Linked DNA regions of Homo sapiens: all the other regions are linked to region 3. Evidence: promoter capture Hi-C in 16 types of primary human blood cells and fetal thymus (Javierre and others, 2016). All regions are on one chromosome and are shown on one strand. Each heading gives the region's core, a stretch centred on a gene start or on the middle of the fragment in contact. The rest is flanking DNA. Distances are from core to core; before and after follow the strand shown.

Evidence for each region. Contacts are between HindIII fragments. The CHiCAGO score rates a contact against its expected background, and 5 or more counts as called.
Region 1: a fragment that was not itself captured here is called in contact with the fragment with the promoter of RNF182 in region 3 in 2 of 17 cell types (total B cells and naive B cells); the score reaches 5.5 in total B cells.
Region 2: a fragment that was not itself captured here is called in contact with the fragment with the promoter of RNF182 in region 3 in 2 of 17 cell types (endothelial precursors and total B cells); the score reaches 7.4 in endothelial precursors.

What each region holds. Positions count from the first base shown.
Region 1 is chr6:14,148,305-14,153,233 of GRCh38, forward strand. No RefSeq gene overlaps it. Among named protein-coding and RNA genes, the nearest start is that of CD83, 33 kb to the left of the region's middle. The HindIII fragment of the contact is 3,231 bases long and covers 1,166-4,396 here.
Region 2 is chr6:14,062,501-14,067,397 of GRCh38, forward strand. No RefSeq gene overlaps it. Among named protein-coding and RNA genes, the nearest start is that of CD83, 53 kb to the right of the region's middle. The HindIII fragment of the contact is 3,900 bases long and covers 1,646-4,897 here.
Region 3 is chr6:13,922,556-13,927,283 of GRCh38, forward strand. RNF182 (ring finger protein 182) reads left to right here and starts at 2,397. Exons shown (of 3, transcript NM_152737.4): 1 at 2,397-2,468. RefSeq lists an enhancer at 1,292-1,792. The HindIII fragment of the contact is 2,801 bases long and covers 1,822-4,622 here.

The DNA of each region.
Region 1 (4,929 bases), core at 1,531-4,030, 230 kb after region 3:
ACCTTTTGAACCAAGAGGTCAGTGAGAGACGGCCTGACTCTGTTAGTTTTAACTTTTCCTCTCAAACCTATTCTCCCTCCCCCATATGCCTTTCTTCAGGAGCTGTCGTCCTCACCTGGACCCAACCAGTCATTCCCAGTGTTACCTCCTTCATTATTTAGAGCCCCTCTGCTGCCAGAGCGATCCTGTTCCAGTGCTGGTTTGGCCATGCCATTTCACTTTTTTAGAGCCTTCTGGTCTCCCACCCTCACTGGAATTCTGCCCACCTCCCTGCTCAGGGCTCATGCTCTCCCTGCCTGGTTGTTTGCAGTTCAGTCTCAGCCTCTGCGGCTTTGCACACATCATACCTCCAGTCTCGCTCCAGTCTCCTGCCTGGGGGTGACTGCCTGAGCTCTGCCCAGGCAGCATGGTGGTGGGGTCTTAGGGTCCAGCATCTGGGCTTTTTACTCCTTGCCCTGATGTCAGCGGGGCACCAGCCCCTGCCCTCTGACCTGCCTGGTAGCCTCGAGCCTGGAGCTTGTCCATGTCATCCCCCAAATAAGACCCCTGCATATCCTGGTGGCAGTGGGCATGGGGACCAGTTACCCCACTGGACAAGTTGGGAAGTCTTACTGCCTCTTTTGTGACATCTAATCAATCTTCCTGATTGATTCAATGCCCTGTCTCCCACCTTCAATGACACTCTAGCGGGGCCTGTAATTCGTGAATCTGTCTGGGGTTCTAGAGAGCAGATGAGCTTATTTAGCATCGGTAACCCCTTTGCTGCAAGCACTCACAACTCTCTCAGTTTTGCTAACATCCTTGTTCTGACTTCATTTTTCTCTTCTGTAAAATGATAAAAAATTTTACATTATTTTCAGTTCTGTTAAAGGAGTGGAATGAGCTAATCTCTCAGGTGACTTTTAAGCCCAGGATTATTTTATGATTAGTCAAGGAACTTAGGTTTGGGGAAGTGTTGCGTTAAGTTTCTCTTTCTTTTTTAGTTGACTTTGGTCAGAGAGGGATCGGGGATTGTTGGCACAAGGAAAAACTGGCAAATTAAGGTACATTTATTTTTAGGTTAAAGTCAAATGTTGGTTGTACGTATTAATCTTTTTTATGATTCTCCATGTTAATAGGCATTTTAATTAGTTGACTAATGACAATGATAGTGTGTTGGATAAGAAGCTTTGTGAAAGGAAGCAACCAGGGATTGACACTAGAGAACAGAAGGACCCACTTAACAAGGCGTGAGTGATGTCACCCTCTTGTGGAGGCAGTAACCACATTACCTGCATCTCCTCCGTGACTTGGTAGGTAATGGTGTAAGGTTCAGGGACAGATGTTATTTGGACCAATTAAATAGCTTAGAATCCTTAAAAAAGACCAAGTTTTCATTATGCTTTCCAAGAGTGGACTGTAATTTTTATTTAAGTACACACAAACCACAGAAGTCTGAACTGTACTACTAGTCAATGTATGTAACTGTTCTTTGGCAAATGGGACATCGCCCTAAATTGCTACTTAGGGGGCCATGTGCAGCCACTGCTGGCAGCAACAAGTCACCGGGCAGCGCTTTCCTGGCAAGCGGGGAAGGGATCTTAGCACTGCAATGATTTTGGAAAGGAAAATGAGCAGATGTGCCCCCGCCTGACTCCCCGCTTGCCTTGGGACTCATTTGCACATTCTAGGGGCTTGGATACCCTAAGGCACACAGTTGCTTTTGGTTAATTGTTATTACTGCATGTGTAAGGAGAACTCTGGGTAAAATTGCCAAGCCTTGCGCCTGGCCCCAAACTGGAAAAATCTTTCAAACAGAAAATGAAGTTTAGTTTGGCAGCCTCATAGATCATTAGCCTGAAAATGTACACTTGGCCTGGCTGGTAGGTTGGAGGAAAGGAAACAGGACTATGCAGGGTTTGCATGCTCTGCCCAATGAGGCCAGCCTCCTGGCCCATGGGCCCCATAGAACCCAGGCCTGACCGAATCTCTGCTTGGGACCAGGTGTTCCTACCCTATCGTTTTGCTGTCAGGGGAAGGGCTGGTCCTCCCTGGTGGTATCTCATTTGCCCAGCATGAGCATTATGCTCTGTTGGATGGTACACTTTGTCTATTCGGTTCATGCTCCTCCCATGGCTGTGCCAGCTCCACCTGACTGCCTCGTTGCCCATGACCTTGGCCTCCCTTCTGACTCTTACTACCCCTACACAATCAACACCAGGACATTGAACATGGACACAGCTGTGGTTTCTTCTTCCATCTGAGGCCCTCCTTCACAAGCCTGGGACCCTGGAGGATTTTATCTGATTTGTTGCACAGCTCTCATGCATGCAGTTAACCTAATTTCTGACGTGGCTCAATTTCATCCCATGTGGAAGGAAATGTGCCAATCTTTGGACCTCCACAGCTAGGTTTGGGAGCATGTTGATATCACTGATGATGTGTGGGTTACTCAGATTTATGTGGCAAGTTTGCTTGGTAAGCCAAACCATTGGGGGCACAACCCCCTGCTCTTTCCAAACTGTGACCAAAACTATCTGCATCTCAAGGTGTTCTTTGAGCAGAGGTTATCTACTCAAGCGAGGGTTCATGCAAACAAAAGTGTCAGTCACAATGTTGACTCTGTATGAGGGAAGGGGGGAAGTAGGGGGAGATGCTGGGGTCTTGGGGGCAGAGCAGATGGGGACTGACAGCCTGAAGGATAAGAAAGGAGAAGGGAGGATTCCAAAGAGTCAAAACAGACTATTCAAAAATCGATTTCTTGGATTTTGTGTTGCCATAGCTCAAAGGGGAGCTGAAAAAAGTGGATGAGGGGTGGCCATGCCTTTGGGGTCAAATATGTGGAGTCTGAATCCTAACTGTGCTGGTCACTTACTTTGAGATATGACTCTGTACCTCAGTTTCTTCTGTTGTTGCCACCATGAAGACTAAACAACCCATCCTCACGTTTGCTCACTGGCACTTCTGGGAGTCTGTTTCAAGGCGTGGAGTGGGCATCATTGCAAGATCATGATGACAAGAGTTTGAGTCCAGGGTTGTGTGAGCTCACTGCAGTCCCTGGAGGGGAGATGCTAGGACTTCAGCAGGCACAGGAGAAGGGCATCATGTGCCTATGGACTGGAACAAATAGAGCATGAGCAAGTAATTTAAGAGAAAATAACTTAGGAGGAAATCCAAGTCGAAGCCAGGCAGGCTATCTTTTTCTTTCCCTTCCTTCCTTCCTTCCTTCCTTCCTTCCTTCCTTCCTTCCTTCCTTCCTTCCTTCCCTCCTTCCTTTTTTTTGAAAAGGAGTTTTGCTCTTGTTGCCCAGGCTGGAGTGCAATGGCATGATCTTGGCTCACCACAACCTCCGCCTCCCGGGTTCAAGCAATTCTCCTGCCTCAGCCTTCCAAGTAGCTGGGATTACAGGCATGCACCACCATGCCTGGCTAGTTTTGTATTTTTAGTAGAGACGGGGTTTCTCCCTGTTGGTCAGGCTGGTCTCAAACTCCTGACCTCAGATCTACCCACCTTGGCCTACCAAAGTGCTGGGATTACAGGCATAAGCCACCGTGCCCAGCCCAGGCAGGCTGTCTTAAGGAGCAGAGTATATTGTGTTTACTGGATCTTTCCAAATAGGGCCCCAGCAGCTAGACACTGAATGCAGATGCCCTCTGAGCAATGAATAATGGAGCACCACACTTGGATCTGGGCATTTAAACATTTATTAATACAGGACATTCCCCCTCCTCCTCCCCCTTCTCCTCTTCCTCCTCCTCCTCCTCTTCCTCCTCCTCCTTCTTCTTCTTCCTCCTCCTCCTTCCTTCTTCCTCTTCCTTCTTCCTATTCCTCCTCCTTTTCCTCCTGCTTCTGCTTCTTCTCTCTGTCTTCTTTCTTTTTTTTCTTCTTTTTCTTCAGCAATTGCCTTATTCTTTGGGATCAAATTGGTTAGAGATTATTTAAAGCTATATATGAACATATAATTGGCCACTTCTTCCTGATGTGGTAGTTGTGTGTTTGAATTTAATAATTCTAAATACAATATTTTATATTCAGCCCCACTAAATTTAATCTTGTTTGTTTTGATCTCTTGTTCCAACTTGCCAAGATCGTTTTGAGACTCAGCTCTGTCTTCCAATATATTATGTCACCCCCAGCTTCAAATTTGATATTCATGTTTGATAAACTTTAATTAACATAAATGTTGAAAAGATAAGGTTGGGATCTTCTACAAAATCTGTAGCATTCCATTAGATATCTTCCAGTTTAATATCAATCCTGTAATCCAATCTCTTTGGGTAATTGCAACCAGCCAGCTATTGATCATCTCACACAATATGTGGGATACACAATCTACTCCTCTTTAATGGTAACGGGCATGCTGCGTAGGCCAAGCCTTTACCTTCCATCCTGTCTGCACCGCATCCCTTCCAAGGGAAGCTTCTTTACCTAACCTCCTTCTCAGGCAGCCTGGGTTTATATTCTGTCATCACACCCCCTTGCTAGCTAACCCTGACTCCACAGCAATAATCCTATTAACTTTGGCCTAATGTAAAAAAACTGGATCAATCATATCCTCTAATTTTAAAATCTGAACTAGGAAAATAAAAAGAATTTTGTAATTTGCAAGTGATCGGGAAGTGAATGGATATTGTGGGGTTAAGGTGGGGCTGAGGCAAGCCAAGGCTTCTTTCTTTCTGGAGAGAGACAGACAGAGATAAGGAGGAGGTTTTGGGCTTCTTTTGTATCTTAGATTACCCTGAGAATCTTACAAAAGCTACAGACTCCCCTTGCAGAGAAATGCATAAATGAACAATTTGCTTACAGTTTTAAGATGTTTATAGACCTTCCAAATTTTGGAGAAATTGGCCCTAGAGAAGAGATAATAAAGTCAATACTGTGAAAATGAAGAGGATATACAGAAATAAATAGGGTTGGAGAGAGATGGATACCCCCAGACCTGCCTCATTT
Region 2 (4,897 bases), core at 2,346-4,845, 140 kb after region 3:
TTATGGGAGCCCTAGTAGATTGATACAGATTTTGGTACTGGGAGTGGGGTGCTGATATAACAAATACCAAAAAATTCAAAGTGGCTTTGGAACTGGGTAAGGCTAGAAGAGTTTTGAGGCCATATTAAAAAAACCTAGTTCCTCGAAGAGCCTGTTAATAGAAATATGGACATTAAATATGCTTCTGGTGAGGTCTCACACGGAAATGAACATATTTTGGGCACTGGAGGAAAGATGATCCTTGTTACAAAGTGGCAAAGAACTTGGCTGAATAGTGTTCTAGTGTTTTGCGGAAGGTAAAACTCTTAAGTGACAAACTTGGGTATTTAGCTGAGGAAATCCCTAAGCAAAGTGTTGAAGGTTTCTCTTTACCACTTACAGCAAAATGTGAGAGCACAGAGTTAAGTTGAAGAAGAAATTGTTAAGCAAAAAGGAACCAGAATTTGAAGACTTGGAAAATTCTCAGCTATATATATTACAATGCATGAAGAGTTAGGTTAAAAGAATATCTTTAGGGTGGTCTCTAATCCAATATGACCAGTGTTATACAGTATTGAATAACAATACTGTCTTTTATGTTACAGGGTAGCTATGATGATCAAATGTAATTGGTTTTATATGTACTCTAAGATCTTGGTAAACTATAAATTGTTCTACAAAAATAAGGTGCAACAAAGATAAGATGAGGCTTGGATCTTTAAAGTCTCAATCCAGCCCTCTTTCTAATATATTATCTCATGCCAAAGACTTCTAGACTTCCAGCAAATCAGATCAACAAGCATTTAATTAAATACTCTGAACAGCACACGAATAGATACAGTAAGGTGGCCAGCACAGTGGCTAATGCCTGTAATCTCAGCACTTTGGGAGGCCAAGGCAGGAGGACTGCTTGAGGCCAGGAGTTTGAGACCAGCCTGGGCAATATAGAGAGACCCCATCTCTATAAAACATAACAAAATTAAAAAATTAGCTAGGTGTGGTGGTGTGCACCTGTAGTCCCAGCTACTTGGGAGCCTGAAGTGGGAAGATCATTTAAACCTCTGAGTTTGAGGCTGCAGTGAGCTATGATCATCACTGCACTCTAGCCTGGGCAATGGGGTCTCAAAATAAGCAATAGAAAATAAGAAGAAGGCACAGTCTTTCCTCCACAGTATCTAGAAAGCAAAAAATAAACATATTTCTCAGCTAATAAACTACACAGCAATCTTGAGATAATATATTTTCAGCTTTCCACATTAATTAATTGGTTAACCTCTAAAGCAAGTTGGTATTCTTCCTAACATCTTTTGGGGAAATGACAAAAGCAAATTCAATTTAGAATCTTATAAACTTTTATTCTTTTTTGTTGGTTTGGCACAGACACATTTCTTTTTTCTTTATAACTTCTATTATTCTCTTGGAAGGGCCAGGTTTTCAAATCAGAGGCTGACATCACAGTTTGCAGCTCCTGCCAAACAAAAGTTTCCGATGGAGAATATTTGCAAATTTGACCACTGATTTAATTAAAAACGTTCCCAAGAAGTGTAAAAGAACAAGTTTTCAGATCTTTATTTGCAATTGTGAAGCAGTCTGGAAGCTTGAGCCGTGATATCTACCTTTAGTACTTCTTAGGAAGCTCAAAGCATGCAGCCTCCTGAGAGTGGAAAGCTTTCATCCTTTCTTTCCTCATTCAACCTCACCATTGCTTTTGGAAAGCCACATCTGCTGGAATATAGGGGTTAAAATTCTGTCTTCCCCTAGTCACAGGGGTAAAAATTTTCACAAAATTAATAATAATAATAATAATAATAAATAATGGGGGGCTGGGCATGGTGGCTCACGCCTGTAATCCCAGCACTTTGGGAGGCTGAGGCAGGAGGATCACCTGATGTCAGGAGTTCAAGAGCAGCCTGGCCAACATGGTGAAACCCTGTCTCTATTAAAAATACAAAATTAGCCGAGTGTGGTGGCACATGCCTGTAATCCCAGCTACTGGGGAGGCTAAGGCAGGAGAATTGCTTGAACCCAGGAAGCAGAAGTTGCAGTGAACCAAGATCATGCCACTGCACTCCAGCCTGGATGACAGAGGAATACTCATTCTCAAAAATAAATAAATAAATAAAGAATGGGAAGAGAAGAGAGAAGATAATTGAAGGACACCCAGAAACCTTTCCCATCATGTCAGAAATTTACCAGCTACATGAACATTTGCTTCCGAGACAGTATCTGCATGGATCATATCAACTGACTAATCTTCATGGGAATAATTCTTTTTGTAAACCTTTTTGCTTTCTAAGGAATCCACTTGAAAGAAAAGATCTTGGATACAATGGCCCCTTACTACAGTTCTGTGAGGTGTTACGGAAATGTAATCATATCCTCCATCAGTGATTTAAGGGAGTACAGTAGTGAATTATTTTGTAAAGTGTAGAATTTTCTTCCTACTTGAAGAGTCTCTCACTCACTTTTGATTTTTAAGTTTGGATTTTCATGTATTTGTCTCAAAGTCAGAGACATAAATCAACACATGACCCCAAAGGAATACTGGAGGACTACACAAGGGTCTCTGGCAGAGCAAATCTGTTCTGATTCCACACCACCCATCTTCACTCACGACAGAGTCGCAGCGTGGGACAGTGCCTCCGTTCCTATAAAGAAAGGCCACTCTCAGTGTGTTCGGCTGTGCTGTCATGCACTACTACACATATCCCAAGAACCCCAGATACTGAAAAAAGAGAAGTTGCTTTCCCAAAACAGAGTTTTTTCCTATGATCAGCTCATGATCATCTCTCTCCCTTTATCTTTCTTAACCCTAAAAAACCAGTTTTACTATTCATCCATCCTAACAAGGTAAATTAGCCAAGACCTTACCACACCTCCTTTACACTTTCATCTTCCCCCTTTTAGCTGCCTTTAGCAGCCTTATGGATGGGGTTTCACATCTCCCTATATTCTGTACAGGCTGTGTGTGTGCATGCATGTGTGTCCCTGTGTGTGTGTATCTGTGTCTGTCTCTGTGTCCCTCTGTGTGTATATCTGTGTGTTTCTGTGTCCCTGTGTGTATGTATCTATGTCTGTCTCTGTGTGTGTGTGTGTATCTCTGTCTGTGTGTGTGTGTATTTGTGTGTGTGGGGGGGGGTGGGTATGTGTGGTGTGTTTCTCTGTATTCCTTTTCATTTCTCCCTAGGTGGCTGTGCCCAGATCGCCTCTCTACTCCTTCAGATAAAAAGCAAAGGGCTTTGGGGAGGCTGAGGCAGGAGGTTCACTTGAGCTCAGGAGTTAGAGACTAGCCTGGGCAACATAGTGAGACCTCGTCTCTCCAAAAAACTTTAAACAAAAACTTGAAAAAGCAAAGAGCCTTGGGTAATAGTGACAGTAGTCACAGCTAGCGTCCACATGCAGCTTCCTGTGTATGCATCAGGCAGCTCATCACCTGTATATCTGTGGACCACTTTAATCCTCATCACAACCATACGAAGGTGGAACTATTAGTCTCATTTTACAGATGAGGAAATGGCTACGTAAACTCTTGTAAAGAAATCCAGACAAGGCCGGGTGCGGTGGCTCACACCAGTAATCCCAGCACTTTGGCAGGTCTTGGCGGGTGGATCACTTGAGGTCGGGAGTTCGAGACCAGCCTGGCCAAAATGGTAAAACCCCTTCTCTACTAAAAATACAAAAGTTAGCCAGGCATGGTGGTGCGTGCCTGTAATCCCAGCTACTCGGGAGGCTGAGGCAGGAGAATAGCTTGAACCTGGGAGGTGGAGGTTGCAGTGAGCCAAGATTGCACCACTGCACTCCAGCCTGGGCAATACAGTGAGACTCAGCCTCAAAAAAGAAAAAAAACAAAACAAACGGAAACAAAACAAAAAAGAAATCCAAAGGAATGAATAATGAACAATACACTGTCCCTCAAATGTGCTCTCCCCTCAGGCTCACGTTCTTCAGTATATACACATATGCTTACTATATGTGACTACTGTAGTACTATACATTACTACTGTGTCTTAGCTCATTCACCTTAGAGACAAATGGATAGTAAAATTATTTTTTTTTTAGAGTTAGGAAAGGAAAAAAGAAGAGGAGAGGGGTCATGAGTTGATTATATAAACAAACCTTGTTTTGAAGAAGTAGCTTCTCTTATCTCAATGTGTGTGTGTGTGTGTGTGTGTGTGTGTGTGTGTGTGTGAGAGAGAGAGAGAGAGAGAGACAGAGAGAGACAGAGACAGAGTATATGTAGAGCACAGGTTTGGAAAAATCCCTATACCATAAAATATTTCATTGCATCCTTCATGTAATGTATTCATGAGCCTGTAGCTTTCCTTCCTTCCTCCAAGGTAGTCACAGGGGACAACAGTCGTGAGTTGACCTGCTCACAGAGTGTCTAGATAGCGCTGGCACCCAGTAATCCCATTAAAATTTTCCTTAAGGTTCTCTTCCACCTCAAGCCTCAAGACTTGAAACTTGGCAGCCTGCTACCTGGTAAAGCACACATCTTCATGGTACATTACTGCCACCTAGAGCTGATATATTGAAACACAGATTCTAGATAAAGCAAAACTGAGAACAAAGCAAAATAAAAAGTCACGCCCAGCCCTGTCCTAAAGCAAGCTGTTTTAGTCCAAGCAGTTTAGATTAAAAATATAATGGACTTTAAGATGAAATTCCTTTCTTCAAGACGTCCAACTTCCTATCTCTGTAAGTGGGTTACCATCCAATAATATTCAAATTAAAAAGCTCAAATGTAGTAGCTGTCAAAATAAGGAAGAAGGAATTTGAGAGAGAGAGACAGGGAGAGAACATGTTTTGAAAAATAAACCTTTGCAGTTGTAGCCATCATTTGAAAGATGAGGAAACTGAAGCTCAAAGCTGTAACGGATTTCTTTTTTTTTTTCTTTTTTTGAGACAGAGTCTTGCT
Region 3 (4,728 bases), core at 1,147-3,646:
TCTAGATCTTTTTAGGAAAGCAAATTCATTATTTTAACCTCATTTCAAAAATGGTGAGAATAAGAAAGACTAGTCATGTATCCACACATTAATTTTTAAGCTTTAGTATCTTCAGTTTCAGTTTAGCTAAACAGACTAAAAGCTGCCACTTAACCTATTCAAATGATATCCCCTGGTAAGTAAGGTGGCACATTTTAAGATGGTTTCCTGACAAGTCTTTTAATTTTCTCCAAGAGGCAGAATGGAAGCAGACCTTAAGATAAAGCTAAACCTCTTTTGGAAAAATGAATGTCTGGAAGAATGTCTCACAGAATAACGCAGGACCAGGTCACTAAGCAATGCTCTAAGTGGGGACACAACGTGGACTTTTCCAAGCCTTCAGCTGAGGGCAGGGATGGCCAAGTCAATGGTCCCTCCCTGTTCTGTATTCAGTTTTTGATCAGGCAGTAATGTGCATGCAGGTCAACAAACATTTATTAAAGCTTTTTGTTTTTGCTTCTTCATTGATAAATTACTAATAAATGCTCATTTGAAAAAGCCAAACAAACCAAATATGTGTACTAAATTGTACATCGTAAGAGGTAACTGTCCCTTCAATTTTTTTTGTAGTTAACAGGTTACCACTTCTAGCAATTAGGTAGGCATTCTTATAGACCTTTATCCCTATGTTTTTGTTCTGTTCCTATATATCCAGTTTTTTTGTACAGAATGGGATCACCCACACATACGGTTCTGAGCCCCCCTTTTCCATTTAATAAGAAATCAATATCTATGAATTTTATATATTTTATTCTTATTAATGGATGCATAGTATTACATGGTATGAAGTGCCACATTATTTAACCATATCACTATTGATGGGCATATAAGTTGTTTCAAACATTTACTATTACAAAACTTCTGCAATGCATATCCTTTTATATCTATCATTACACATTTGTGTGTTTCTGTATGACAGATCTCTAGAATTGAGATAGCTGGGAGAAATGTATGTGCATTTTGAATTCTGGCAGGTATTGCCAAATGCTTAATGGCCTGCCAAAAAGACCTTGTCTTTTGACTTCATCTGGAATATTATTGACTTCATTCAGAATATTCCCATTACAAGAAAGTGGCCAGTCTCTCCGAGGAACAAACTGTTTTCCTTTTCCACCATGAAATAGATCTTATCTTTTCATTAGTTAATATAGGTGTACCTTCAAATGGCAATAACATTGTTCTGCTTTGTGGCTTCTCAAGTAGTAAACCCAGAAAACATCAGCTACCGTGGATTTTATTATAAATCATTGACATTCCTTTGGTGATTCACAAATGCCAAAAAATAAATGTCATGTTCCCCAGGGTTTGAAGAAAGACACTGTAGCTTTTGGATTCAGCAACGGATCTTTCAAGAAAACAGTATGGAGGGATGACTCACTCCCCCCATGGAGGCTGCCCTCTAGTTCGTCCTTTAGAGGAAGCATGACCAAGGGTCTGCTGGTACTTTTCTCTCCCTCTCTAAGAATTTCCTCAGGAGAGGAAAAAGTTAGCTTTCTTTTCTCTGCTCCTGAGTGCCATGGCCTGCAGTACGTGACCAGTCCTTGGCACAGAGTCACTCAGGGCTCATGGTAGATGCTTAGCGGTCACAGCCAGTAGCTGCGCAGTGTGGCAGCAGCTGAGATCCATACTGCAGCCTGAAAGTTGTGTTTCAGCTTCTGAGGTTACAAGTGTATCCAGTGTTTACATCAGAGATAAAGCCCCCTTTCCCCTCTCTCCTACGGGAGCCCTCAACAAGACAGATACACGGGTTGGGTGGAGTGAGACCACATCCAGCAGAGGCAAAGCTTGCTAAAAGAGAGAGGAGGAGGAGGGGGAGAGGGAGGAGGCGGCACGGCGTCCCTTGGCAGCTCCGTGCATGCTGCGGCAGTTGCAACAGGAGAACCGAGTACCAGTTGCTCAACACTTTATCACTTTGCATTGCTCTTTCTCCTCCCTTAAGTGAATTTCCATTTTGAGGGTACAGCTCCACAGGAGAAAGGTGTGGTGGTGGTAGTGGTGGAGGGTGTCTGTGGGGGGGATGGTGGTGCGACGGGAGTTGGAATGTCCAGTGTGGGGAAGCAAAGGAGTGCCTACTAGGATGCGAATACCACTTGGCCCTGGGCTCGCTCCGCTTTAGCCTTCCCCTCTCGCTGGGGAGAAACAGGCGGTTTGTGAGGGAGACTGAGAGAGGGGCGTGTTTGTGGTGGTGGCGGCCCATCGGGGGTCCTTGTCCTCTCCGAATACCCGGACTGCTGAGGGGAAGGGCCGGGGGGGCCCCGGCGGTTGCCATGGTGACGCAGGGTCGGCGGCTCAGCGCCGTAGAGACAAAGCCGCCCGCCCGCCAGCCCGCTAGCTCCTCGCGCGAGCTCCTCCTCCACGGGAACCTCCCTCCCCTCCCAGGCGCCGCCGCAGCCGGAGCGGCTCCCGGGCCCTGGGCCGCCGCCGGCCAGGTAAGGCGATCGCGCCCGCGGCCGGGGAGGGGTCGGCGGGACGCCGGGCCTCCCCAACGCTGGGGCAGCAGCCAGCCCCGCAGTCCTGGACGGCGCCGGGCCGCCCAAGCGCGCCGAGGAGAGGGGGCGGCAAACTTCGGGCCGAGCGGCGCCGGGGCCCGCGCGCGGAGTCTCCCTCCGGGCACCACGGGGGCCGCCGTCCTGGCACCAACTTGAGGGGCTGTGCGGCGGAGGGCGGCTGCGGAGCGCCCGCGCGGGCTGCACCTGCTCAGGGAGCTGCCCCTCTGTTGTTGTTGTTATTTTCCTTCTTGGCGTGCCATCGAGGCTTTTGGGGGAAAAAAAGGTATGAAAGTATTTACCTTTGGACTTTCATGTTTCATGGCATTCTCTTTGAGGAGGGGTTGGGAGGGTAGTAAGAGGGACAAGCGAAAGATTTTTACGAATCTCTGAAAAGTGAGCCCATTTTTATGCCTGTGGCTGAAGCATTTTGAGGAGGCTTCTGAAGTTCGTTTGGATATTGAATCGAAAGACCTTTTTTTCTTTGGAAGGTGCAGTTGCACCTATAACTGGATGGTAAGGGTAGCCCGGCTTTCCCCGACTAGCAAGACCAGAATGTAGAGCAGTACCGATACTTTGTCAAGGAGATACTTGGCACCGAGGTCATTGCTTTTGTTTCTAGAAGGTATTGTGTTCATGCTGTAAGGAACTGGAAAGTGCCTTTTGTTTTTATGTGTAGGGAGGCAATCCAAAGCACCTCTGGAGGCAGGTAGCTGGGCGGTGTTTGCATCGGTGTTTATGAGTGGGATGATGAGGACCACGATGCGGTTGCCACTGGGGCACTGGATAGGTTATAGGTACCTTTCTCAGTGGCCCCAACCCTTGCAATCATTTCGTGATAGTTTGTTGCAGACGCGAAGCACAGATTTAAATTGTGACTGTGAAGACTTTTTTTTTTGGTACTTAGACATCATCTTACATGTAGTAATATGAAAGAAAACAGATACATTTTCAGAAATACAGTTGATCAATTCAGAAGGAAATTGTATATATGTTAATAAGATTTGTTTTAAATCATATTTAAACAATATGAGATGTCATATTGATAACTGGAAAATAATCTAACATATAAAATTGTATATCCAACTTAGTAAAATAATGTATAAGTTGGAATAGGTCATTTAAAGAACTATATGGAATGCAAGAAATTATATTTTTGCTAGAGAGTAATTAATGAAAACAGTACCACTGATCATTTTGAATTGCAGTTAAGTTGATTGGAATTCTGCATATTACAGCTACTTGAGGTGTCAGGCAAAGAGTGATTATTTAATATTCCTCTTCCCTCTTTTGGGATTTCAACACCTGTTAGCCTGCTGATTACTAGGTTTCTCAGTCTGTTCATATTTGCCAGCAACTTCAAGTAATGCCACTTCATTAGAAGATTGTATTGGAAACTAAAGGATTGAAGTTGCAATTAACAGTTTGCAGGTTATTTCACAATTGGGCTTGTTTTTAAACTGAATTTTACCTGTGGAAGATTCACAGATGCTCTGCTAAATACTCTTTCATGACGGTAATAAAATCGTACATTGATTAAAACGAAGTAGATCTGTTTTGAGAAGATAAACGGGAGAGAAAAGTATTTTCTCACTTAAGCATGAACAGCAAATAGGATATTGAAGCCTAGGCACATTATATAGACAGAGAATGTAGTTTTATGTTTTGTACTAAAAATAAATTATTTTGTGTGTTTGTGTGTGTGTGTGTGTTTTTTTTTTTTTCCTGAGGGACCAACAGAACAGCTTTATTCAGATCTTTGTTAGCAAAACCAGTATTCAAGTTCAAGGACTTGGTCCGTGCTTTCTGCCAGATGAAACCCACACTGTGAGTTCTAGCCTAAACATTTATGTTGTGGCCCTTAATCTGAGTGCTGAAGAACGGAGATATCCATGGTGAATTTAGCACAGTAAGGACCGGTGCTTTGCCTTTGCTGCTAGCTCACACGGGCACAACATTCAATATAGTTTGGCTTCTTCAGAGCTGCATCATTTTCTGCCAAAAAATAAAGTCGGTATACAGAAATCAACAATCATGTATTGCATGCACTGCTTGGTTGTAGTGGCTTATTAATAAGAGCTCCGAAGCATGAAATGAAGCTTGTGTCAGTGCAGTGGAAAACAATAATCTGGCATGTTTATATGTGTTACTAGTGTTCTGAGGTATGTGCATAACCAGATAATGAAAGAAAAAATACTATGAT